Linked DNA regions of Homo sapiens: region 2 is linked to region 1. Evidence: promoter capture Hi-C in human tissues and cell types (Jung and others, 2019). All regions are on one chromosome and are shown on one strand. Each heading gives the region's core, a stretch centred on a gene start or on the middle of the fragment in contact. The rest is flanking DNA. Distances are from core to core; before and after follow the strand shown.

Region 1 (5,847 bases), core at 1,278-3,777:
TCTTATTTTTGCTTAAGTTCACGCAAACACACAAAAATAAAATTAAGAAACCGAGATGGGAAAAGACAGGAACAAAAAATGACTTAAGAATTTAGATGGGATAGCATGGAAGACAGTCAGACACTTAAACTAATTTGAGAGGTTATTAATATATCATGAGGCCAACTGACAAACACAATTTTCTTTCTTTCTTTCTTTCAATAAAATGTTACTCCAACTTTGCTGTTTAAGAAAAAATGCAATAATCTTCTTGGGGGAAAACTCACATTGAAGCACTTGGTAACTAGTACACAAATGCTAATGTTTTTTTTTTTTTCCTTGTAGGCTCTGATGATGACAACCTTAGGCTGGCCATTTACTTAACCCTAAAATCTCTGACAAGTGCCAAATCAGAAATACGCATAACACCATATTCAGGGAGATAGATTTATACTCCAAACAATTCTGTATATTGTGAGATCATCCTTTTTTTACAGCCCAGGAGCAGATGAATTTGAAGGTGATTTCGCGAAGCTGCCTCTTTTTGTATATACATACATGCATAAATGATTGGAAAGAGAAATGAAAGAGGGCCCCAGATAAAAAGGAAAGGCGTTCAGCTAGATAGGTGCATCCAGCAGCAGTTCTCTGATGCTATAATCCCGAAAACAGATAAAGCCACTAGCTTGAGAGCCCCTGGAAGGCATTACCTCTATATAGGGCACGATCTTGCAGGAGAAGTCCTCCAGCAGCCACTTCTTGGTCAGCTCGTGGAAGATGACCAGCGGAAGGCAGAAGAAGATGATGAGAAAGTCCCAGAAGGCCAGGTTGGCCAAGAGGGAGTTGGAGATGCTCCGCATGTAGTAGTTGTGGCACACGATGCACATCACCGCCAGGTTGCCAATGATGCCGGTCCCGAAGATCACCACGGACAGACACATGACCGCGTAGGCTCCATAGGACTCCTGGGTCAGCGGGTAGAAGGGGTTCTTCAGTCTCACACGCCGGTTCGTGCTGTTTCCCCGGCGGGGACCCCCAGGCTCATGGATTCCTTCACCCAAGGATCCATTCTGGGCCAGCGCCCGGCCCGGGAGTGCAATTGTCCACCCTTCGTGCCCCGCCAGTCCATTGGCCGTCTTGGACAGGGGCTTGTGGTGGGAACCCTGGAGTTTCCCGGCTCTCCTTGGCCAGTAAAAAAGATCGCTGGCTCCGGGGACTGTCTTCACACTCTGCTCCTGGCTACGCCCGGAAATGCCAGCGCCTCTGGGACCCTTCTCTTCCTCCTCTGAGATCTGAAGGAAGAGCTGGAGGGCCGTGGGGTTCCCTCTCCCCAAAGTTTCAGAAGGCTCCTGACCCCGAGCACCTTTCCACCTCCAGGGGCCAGGTGGCCTGGTTGGAGGTCCCGGGGGTCCGGCTGCCGACGCCTCCGCCCCTCTGCCTGCAGCCGGGTCACGGCCCGGGGCCGCCGGCAGGTCCCAGGAGGGTCCCGCAAGAAACGCTGCCCCCTGCTCCTCCCTGGGTGCTCGGGCTCGCAGAACGTCTCTTGCAGAATTTCCCGGTCCCCAGGCGTCCCTGCCGCGGCGCTGGATCACTGTAGGTGCACAGCTCTCCCCCAGACAAGTTTCGTTTCTGGACGCAGGGGCGACCCCGAGGGCAGAAGAGGCAGACACCTTGAGCAGTAGCAGAAGCAGTAGCCGCGACATGCGGGCGAGAAGCGCGCCCGGGGCTCGCATGGCTTGGTGAGGGCACACCCGGCAGCCGCAGCTCCTGCTTAGTTAGGATCGACACCTGCTGCCGAAGTTGCTGCTGAGAGTTAGGCACATGTCACATACTCACCCCCGCCCGGGTAGCGGGGAACCGGAGATTAGGGTGATAGCGGAAGATCGGTCTTGGGGGTCACACACACGCCCCCTATAATCCTTCCTCCTTTGGCATCTTGTGCATTTCTCAGCCAAGTTGAGTCCCAGCAAGGTATGCCCTCCAAGGTTCCTAGAGGGAATAGGCTACTCCCGGTGGCTGACCTTGAAAAGTTGCAATCAACACCTGACTGTTGATTACTGTTGAGACTCGGGGGAGCCCAGACGAAGCCCCACACTCCTCACTGCCTTTGGGTGGGGGTGGTGGCCTTCTTGGTAACAGTTGCTCTGCCTATTTACATCCTTTCGACAGCGTTTGATCCAGTTGCAAGCCGAGGTCTCTAGAGGAAAAGAAAAACAAGTCCCCCTCCCCCAGACGACTCGCAGTCACAACCCCGCTCCCAGCTCGCTGGAAACACGTTGCAAACAGTCCGAAGCAGCGCTGATGCGCCGGCGAAACTCTTGCCCCACCTAACCCCAGCGACTTGCGAGCCTACTGCTGCCGAGGAGAAGCGGGATTCCAACCCCGCGGCCACTGCCAAAGTTGCTTCTCCTCCAGCTCAAAGTTGACGACGGGGCGAAGCAGGCTGCTGGACGGCGTGCCGCCGCAGAGAAGGAAATCGTGGGGAGAAGGGGGAGAAGAGGGCGCCGCTCGTCGGTGGACAGTGCCGCTAGCCGCGGGAGCTAGTCACTGCCACAGCGGGCTCAGCCCGGACGGGAAGGGTGGTGCCTGGAACCGCCGCGGGCCAGGCAGTGCGCGGCCGGGAAGGGGAGGTGGCCCGGCCTCGCCCCCGCGCTCCAGCCGCTGCGCGCGCCCGCGAAGCTCGACTCTCGGCTCGTTGCCTCCTCCCACTCCTTCGCCTCCTCCTCGGAGAGATACTGGTTTGTGGGGAGACGGGATCCCCTGGTGGTTCACCACTCACTAAACCCACACACGTTTCATTCAAGCCATTTGTAGCGGCTTCCACTCGGAGGAGCTGGGAGGGAACAAGGGCGGAGGCGCGGAGCCTGCGCGGCTCGAGGCTAGGGATGGGCGGGACAGGTTAATTCCCCAGCTGTCGAAACCAGCCTGACAGGTCCCCGAGCCCGGGCTAGGGGCGGGTGCGGGGCGGGAGTGGGGGGTGGGGGTGGGAACGGGAATATGAGAGCGGTCGGGGGAGGGAAGAGAGGAGGGTAGCAGGGGAGTGAGCAGCAGGGTCCCCTCCAATCTGTTGCGGCTGATGCGCATGCCCAGGTCTCAGCTCTGGGGGGCGAGGGGCGGGGCGGGGGAGGGGCGGACGGGGGTTGGGCCGCGGGGAGTAAGAAGGTGAAACCTCACCTCCTCAGGTATTCCCTAGAGATAGGAGAGAATGGGAGCTCAGAGGTGTCAGTCATAGAGAATTACCAGTTCCAGGATTGAGATGCAGAGCGAGAAAGCTCAGGATGCACCATTACCTTTAACACTGAGTTGGGAAGCATCCTACCATGGGTTACTTCGTACCACCCAGAGCATAGTGAGGTAGTTGTATTTGATGAAGTAGTGGGAAATGACTGGAGGCAGAAAATTACTCGAACAGCACTCCCAGCACGGCTGTCCATGCCTTTCCAACCTTTCTACTATATCCCACAACCCTGTCAAAACTGTCAGGGCATAGCTAATAAAATAGACAAATTAATGAAGAGAAAATGATAGAGGAAGAAATAAACACATTCTGAATTTTTTTTTTAAACAGAGTCTTGCTGTGTCGCCCAGGCTGGAGTGCAGTGGTGCGATCTCGACTCACTGCAACCTCCGCCTCCCCGGGTTCAAGCGATTCTCCTGCCTCAGCCTCCCAAGTAGCTGAGACTACAGGCACCCGCCACCATGCCCGGCTAATTTTTTTTGTATTTTTAGCAGAGACGGGGTTTCACTATGTTGGCCAGGCTGGTCTTGAGCTCCTGACCTCGTGATCCGCCCGCCTCGGCCTCCCAAAGCGCTGGCATTACAGGCGTGAGCCATCACACCCGGCCTGAATTTTTTTAAAGCAACACATCTAGAGAGGCAGGAGAAAACACAATGGAACATATGATACCAATTGTGGTAAATAGAATAATGCCCCCCCAAAAAAATGTCCGAATCCTAATTCCTAATACCTGTGAGTATGTTACCTTACAGAGCAAAAGGGATTTTGCCAATGCAATTCAGCTAAGACTCTTGAGATGGGGAGAGTATCGTGATTATCCAGGTGGGTACACTATAATCACAAGAGCCCTTACAAATGAGAGGCAGGAGGGTCAGAGTAAAAACAAACACAAGCCAAGTGATGTGGGCAATCTCTGGAAGCTAGAATGGGCATAAAAAAGGATCTACTAGCCCATTTGAGACTTCTGACCTCCATAACTGTAAGATAATGAATGTGTGTTGTTTTAAGCCACAAAATTTATGGTTATTTGTTGCAGTAGCAATAGTAAACTAATACACCATTAAATCTAAAAATGGAGACAACAGGAATAATTGTATAGAAAAACATAAACTACCAAAAATAGTTCAAGAAGAAAATTTTCAGAAACTGTAATCGAACTATAACATTAAAGAAATCAAATCATTCATCAAGATCTACCCAGAGGAAAGTGCTAGACCTTAGCATATCCTGCGGAATAAATATACATTTATACAAAATGTTTTAAAGCTACTCAGTTCATTTTGTGAAGGCAGAATAACCTTAATGTCAAAATCAGACAAAGCCAGAAATAGGAAAAAATATAAGCTAATAGCACACATTCATTTGTACATTAATTCATTCATTTATATACACTAACTCATTCTCTCAAATTCACTACTTCATTAAAGAAATATTCTGCTCAAGTTACTTAGGTCAGAGCAGTGAATAAAATAAAGTTCTGCTCTCACTGAATTTATATTTTCTTGTATACTCATAAAAAGGACAAACTAGGCTTATGTGTATCACCAAGACTGAATCTCAGAAACATAAATGTAAGGGAAAAACGTAGAACTTGATGTGTTAACTATATAATGCTACCATTTGTGTAGCTCTTAAAATGCACATAAAACAATTTGATAATCATACATGGTGTATCATATAAAATATGTGAATGGAATAAATACAGATCAACTTCAGAATATTAGTCACCTCAGGAAATAGAAGAATGGTCATGGGATGGAAGGAAGCTTCTACTCTAACTGTAGTATCTTGTTTCTTTAAAAAAAATTTAGAAGAGGGAAATCTGGATTAATAATGAAACAGGAAAAATAAGTTGCCAAAATGAAACAGTGATATAGCTTCCCTTCTCATCTCATTAGCTTAGAGTTTAAGTTACACATGTAAGATATGTTTCTATCCTTTTTACTCTAGACCACATAAATGTGTCACTAATCTCTATCACTACACAGAAAGGAATCAAAGCTAAACAGGGAAAAATCCCTTTACCTGCTCCCTTAGAAGCTCCATTGTAATTCACACATGCTTGGCCCAGAGTTGGGCATCATTCTTAAAGTGGTGGGCTATAGAACTCAGGTACCATGCTTGGAGAGTGGCTGGGGAAAGGCCTGAAGGAGGAGCTACCTGTGTTTGTCTGTGGTGGTATCTCATTCATGAGTGGTCCCTTCCTTAACCTGAACAATGATGCCTACCTACTTGGATGGTTGCCAAGTTCTGGTTCTCTAACTTATTCGGACCATGAATAAAACCAAAGAGCTCCAGCTACTCTATTGGAGCCCAGGTCAATATCAATTATTTATAAAATTGTGTTTCCAAAAATATCAATTATTTATATTTTTGGAAACACAATTTTCTCATCTGTATAATAAGGATACTAATACCTACTCTCAGCTCTGCTCACCCAAGTTGTTATGTGGATTAGGTAGATATGAAAAGACTACATAAAGTATAAAATATTTATTACTGTTGCTCTTGGTAGTTCAACTTTGTTTTTAGTGAAATTTAAATGCTGTCAAAAACACATAATCCTTGAAAAAGAATATGCTTGGTAAATAAAAGTGTAAAGTAATAGGTTTATAAGAAAATTTAGAATG
Region 2 (5,847 bases), core at 1,619-4,118, 300 kb before region 1:
TAAGTAACAAAGCCAGGAGTTAAACAAGTTTGTCAGATACTTATTCTCAACCCTTATGATATACTGCTAGTTTTTAATCACTGTAAGTAATATTAAACAAATAAATCTATTGTTCAAGTCTTACTGAAATCTGCCTCTCATTTTTGTAAAAACTTAAATGTTTGATCTACAATTTATTACTTGATCAGATATAAAATTTGATCAATACCCTTTATTTTCCTGGTACTATATTTTGCATCCTCTGTTCTCCATGCAAAGGCCAGATTGAGAGTGGAGTAGCAGAAGGAGATGAAAGCTCAATAAAATAGAAACCATTCCACTGGTACAGTGTTCTTGTATTCCCTTTTAGAAGAGAGATTTTAAAAGGGTTATTTTATCACCATCTGTGAGAAATTCAGCTTAAATGATAAAAAAAGCTTTTAAATGATTTATGGAGAAAATTTTGCTCTAAACTGTGAAAAAGATTTCTTAACAGAAAGTTGTGGAAACTGGTAAAACAAGTCAACAAAATTACCTTTTTCCTGTGAAATAATCCCGATGTCACTAAAGAATGCTGAGCCTCCACATGGACTGTGGGAGAGGAAAGAAATATACTCACATCTATCTCACGGCCCTAGAGATTTTTACCTCTTAAAATTCATATGCCTAATTACAGAATTGCAAAATTCTTCAGCAGCTGAATGCCATTCCTCTTAGTCCAACAGATGTCTTGCACATTTTCTTCTCAATGGAGCCAATGTTTATTTCTATTAGAAGACTCTAAATCACACGTTGTTTGACACTTCTAGTTTATCTTTAACTCGAAAGGTTAATTTAATGCTTTCTCCACTGCATATTACAAATACTTCTGAGAGTAGCAGCTTCATATAAGGAAACAGTTCAGAACATGACATTTTACCCACCCAGACTCCTAGTCCATCACATGATTTGTCAATTCTAGGCCTCTGGCTTATTTTGAAATGCATTGCCTCACTCATCATGCGGTACATCTTTGCATGGCCCAGGTCCCTCTTCCGGTTCAAGGTTCCCATCTCCCAGCTTCTGGGTATGCTGGAAGCTGGGAGCTCATACCTGAGCCTGCTCTAGGAATTGCACTTTGCAGAAATGAGCTTCCTGGTTCAAGGCTTTACTCAATCCACTGTATAGTAGATATGGAGATATGAAGCTCCAGTTCTCTTGCTTTTGTTTGAATAACTGCCAGGTCCATCCCACGTCCAGCAGTGTATGGATTCAACTGAAGCTACTGCTCGAAATGTAGTGCAGTTCAACTTTTCTTTCTGCCAAATCCTGTTTTCTCACAAGTGTAGGTCCTAAGAACACTCTCCAATAAAGCTCCCACATAAATATCTCAGAGATTTAGAGATTCTCACCACCACCAGTGCCCTGGAACACTTGACCTCACTGCAAAGACAACTTTCATAAGTCTTTTCATTCATCCAGCAAATATTTTTCAGGTTTCCACTCTGTCAGGCATAGTATTAATTGCTGAGGATACAATGATAATTTAGTACCTGATCATGTAGAGACAATCCTCTGGTGGGATTTATTAAAAAACAAAAGTATTTGCAATAAATTATGATATTTGCTACAGCAGGGGAAATCCAAGGAGGGATGACCAAATCCATTTACGGGGATTAGGGAGGAGTCTATAAAGGCAATGATCTCTTGCTGAGAACTAAAAGATAAATAGGATGAGCTGGGTTGTGGGCAGTGAGTTATATTTCAGGGAGAGGAAACACTGGCTTTAGAGATCCTGAGGGCAGTGATAGTATATGAGACACTGAAAGATTTTCAATGTATGTACAATTTAGAGTGCATAACATAAGAGTGGCAGAGCCATAGTAAAGCATTCCATTGAAGGATTTTTAAAAATTTTAACTGAATCATTGAGGTATAATGACACATCATAAACTACATATTTAACATATAAAATTTGATAAACTTAAATATATTTATATATACACACACACACACACACACACACACATATATATATATATATGAAACTGCCACCACATTCAAGGCACTGAAACATATTTGTCACCCCAAAGGTTTACACAGGCCTCTGTTTAAACACTTTCTCCTAGCCCTCCCCAATCCTAAGGTAAACACGGATCTATTTCTTAACTTTTAGGTTCAGGGTGCATATGCAGGTTTGTTATATAGGTAAATTCATTTCGTGGGTTTGTTGTACAGATTATTTCATCACCCAAGCACTAATCCTAGTACTCAATAGTTGTATTTTCTGTTCCTGTCCCTCCTCCCACTCTCTACCCTCTAGTAGGCCTCAGTGTCTGTTGTTCCCCTCTTTGTATCCATGTGTTCTCATCATTTAGCTCCCACTTATAAGTGAGAATATGTGGTACATGGTTTTCTGTTCCTGAACTGGTTTGCTAAGGATGATGGTCTCCAGCTCCATCCATGTCCTTGCGAGGGACATAATCTCATTCTTTTTAATGGCTGCTTAGTATTCCATGGTGTATATATACCATATTTTCCTTATCCAGTCTACAATTGATGGCCCTTTAGGTTGATTCCATGTGTTTGCTACTGTGAATAGTGCTACAACGAACACCTATCTGCATGTGTCTTTATGATAGAACTAATTATATTCCTTTGGATGTATACCAAGTAATGGGATTGCTGGATTGAATGGTAGTTCTGTTTTAAGCTCTTTGAGAAATCACCACACTGCTTCCCACAATGGTTGAACTAATTTACACTCCCACCAACAGTGTATAGGCATTCTCTGTTCTCCACAACCTCGCTAGCTTCTGTTATTTTTTGACTTTTTAGTAATAGTAATCCTGACTGGTGTGAGATGGCACCTCTTGTGGTTTTGATGTGCATTTCTCTAATGATCAGTGATATTGAGCTTTCTTTCATATGTTTGTTGGCTGAATGTATGTGTTCTTTTGAAAAGTGTTTATGTCTTTTGCTCACTTTTTAATGGGGTTGTTAGGGGTTCTTTCTTGTAAATTTGTTTAATTTCCTTATAGATGCTGGATACCAGACCTTTGTCAGATGCATAGCTTGCAAATATTTTCTTCCATTCTGTAGGTTGTCTGTTTACTCTGTTGATAGTTTCTTTTGGTGTGTAGAAACTCTTTAGTTTAATTAGATCCCATTCGTCAATTTTTGCTTTTGTTTTGCTTGCTTTTGGTGACTTCATCATGAAATCTTCCCCAATTCCTATGTCCAGAATGGCATTGTCTAGGTTGTCTTCCAGGATTTTTATATTTTAGGGTTTTACATTTAAGCTTTTAATCCACCTAGAGTTGATTTTTGTATATGGTGCAATGAAGGAGTCCAGTTTCAATCATCTGCATATGACCATCCAGTTATCCCAGTGACAATTATTGAATAGGGAATCCTTTCCCCATTGCTTGTTTTTGTCAGTTTTGTTGATGATCAGATGGCTGCAGATGTGAAGCCTTATTTCTGGGCTCCCTACTCTGTTTTATTAGTCTATGTGCCTGTTTTTTGTACCAGTACCAGGCTATTTCAGTTACTGTAGTCCTGCAGTATAGTCAGATAATGTGATGCCTCCAGCTTTGTACTTTTTGCTTAGGATTTCCTTGGCTATTCAGGCTCTTTTCTGGTTTTACATTAATTTTAAAATAGCTTTTTCTAGTTCTATGAAGAATGTTGTTGGTAGTCTAATACTATTTTTGTCATTATAAATTATCCTGCATTTCTAGAGTATTACACAAATTAAATCACAAAAGTTTGTTTTTTTTTGTCTGGCTTCTTACACACAGCATAATTATTTTGTGATTCATTCATGTTGTTGCATGCATCAATATCTCATCCTTTTTTTTTCCTGTGGTTAATGGCACTTCTATTTACATAGGAGGACTCCCTAAGAGTGAATTGGTTCTGTTCAAATATATGAGGATTCTAAATTTAAACTAAGACGTTGCCAGATTTTTTTTCCAAAGACTTTACTAATTCATTCATAGTCTCACCAGTCATGTGAGGAAGTACTCTCTTTCCCTGTATGTCCCTGGCAGCAATATGCATTACCAGTCTTTTCATTTTTGCTTAATATCTCAATTTTAATATTAATTTTCTGACCTACTAGCATATTTTAGTATATTTTTATTGCACTTTTCTTTCTTTTTTTTAAATTATACTTTAAGTTTTAGGGTACATGTGCACAATATGCAGGTTTGTTACATATGTATACATGTGCCATGTTGGTGTGCTGCACCAATTAACTCGTGGTTTAACATTAGGTATATCTCCTAATGCTATCCCTCCCCCCTCACCCACCCCACAACAGTCCCTGGTGTGTGATGTTCCCCTTCCTGTGTCCATGTGTTCTCATTGTTCAATTCCCACCTATGAGTGAGAACATGCAGTGTTTGGTATTTTGTCCTTGCAATAGTTTGCTGAGAATGATGGTTTCCAGCTTCATCCATGTCCCTACAAAGGACATGAACTCATCATTTTTTATGGCTGCATAGTATTCCATGGTGTATATGTGCCACATTTTCTTAATCCAGTCTATCATTGTTGGACATTTGGCTTGGTTCCAAGTCTTTGCTATTCTGAATAGTGCCACAATAAGCATACACATGCATGTGTCTTTATAGCAGCATGATTTATAATCCTTTGGGTATATACCCAGTAATGGAATGGCTGGGTCAAATGGTATTTCTAGTTCTAGATCTCTGAGGAATCGCCACACTGACTTCCACAATGGTTGAACTAGTTTACAGTCCCACGAACAGTGTAAAAGTGTTCCTGTTTCTCCACATCCTCTCCAGCACTTGTTGTTTCCTGACTTTTTAATGATCGCCATTCTAACTGGTATGAAATGGTATCTCATTGTGCTTTTGATTTGCATTTCTCTGGTGGCCAGTGATGATGAGCATTTTTTCATGTGTCTTTTGGCTGCATAAATGTCTTCTTTTGAGAAGTGTCTGTTCATATCCTTTGCCTACTTTTTGATGGAGTTGTTTGTTTTTTTCTTGTAAATTTGTTTGAGTTCATTGTAGATTCTGGATATTAGCCCTTTGTCAGATGAGTAGATTTCAAAAATTTTCTCCCATTCTGTAAGTTGTCTGTTCACTCTGATGGTAGTTTCTTTTGCTGTGCAGAAGCTCTTTAGTTTAATTAGATCCCATTTGTCAATTTTGGCTTTTGTTGCCATTGCTTTTGGTGTTTTAGACATGAAGTCCTTGCCCATGCCTATGTCCTGAATGGTATTGCCTAGGTTTTCTTCTAGGGATTTTATGGTTTTAGGTCTAACATTTAAGTCTTTAATCCATCTTGAATTAATTTGTGTATAAGGTGTAAGGAAGGGATCCAGTTTCAGCTTTCTGAAACTGAAACTGGCTAGCTAGTTTTCCCAGCACCATTTATTAAATAGGGAATCCTTTCCCCATTTCTTGTTTTTGTCAGGTTTGTCAAAGATCAGATAGTTGTAGACATGTGGCATTATTTCTGAGGGCTCTGTCCTGTTCCATTGGTCTATATCTCTGTTTTGGTACCAGTACCATGCTGTTTTGGTTACTGTGGCCTTGTAGTATAGTTTGAAGTCAGGTAGCGTGATGCCTCCAGCTTTGTTCTTTTGGCTTAGGATTTACTTGGCAATGTGGGTTCTTTTTTGGTTCCATATGAACTTTAAAGTAGTTTTTTCCAATTCTGTGAAGACAGTCATTGGTAGCTTCATGGGGATGGCATTGAATCTATAAATTACTTTAGGCAGTATGGGAATTTTCAGGATATTGATTCTTCCTACCCATGAGCATGGAATGTCCTTCCATTTGTTTGTATCTTCTTTTATTTCATTGAGCAGTGGTTTGTAGTTCTCCTTGAAGAGGTCCCTCACATCCCTTC

What was found. Contacts are between HindIII fragments. The study calls those that stand out against the background at their distance.
Region 2: a contact is called between a fragment that was not itself captured here and the fragment with the promoter of GPR37 in region 1, in 1 of the 25 tissues and cell types used here (IMR-90 fibroblasts).

Annotation. Positions count from the first base shown.
Region 1 is chr7:124,763,265-124,769,111 of GRCh38, forward strand. It overlaps GPR37 (G protein-coupled receptor 37), which reads right to left and starts at 2,528. Exons shown (of 2, transcript NM_005302.5): 1 at 690-2,528. The coding sequence starts at 1,712. RefSeq lists a silencer at 2,540-2,669. The HindIII fragment of the contact is 7,043 bases long and covers 1-5,439 here.
Region 2 is chr7:124,458,609-124,464,455 of GRCh38, forward strand. No RefSeq gene overlaps it. Among named protein-coding and RNA genes, the nearest start is that of SSU72L6, 15 kb to the right of the region's middle. The HindIII fragment of the contact is 5,914 bases long and covers 1-5,825 here.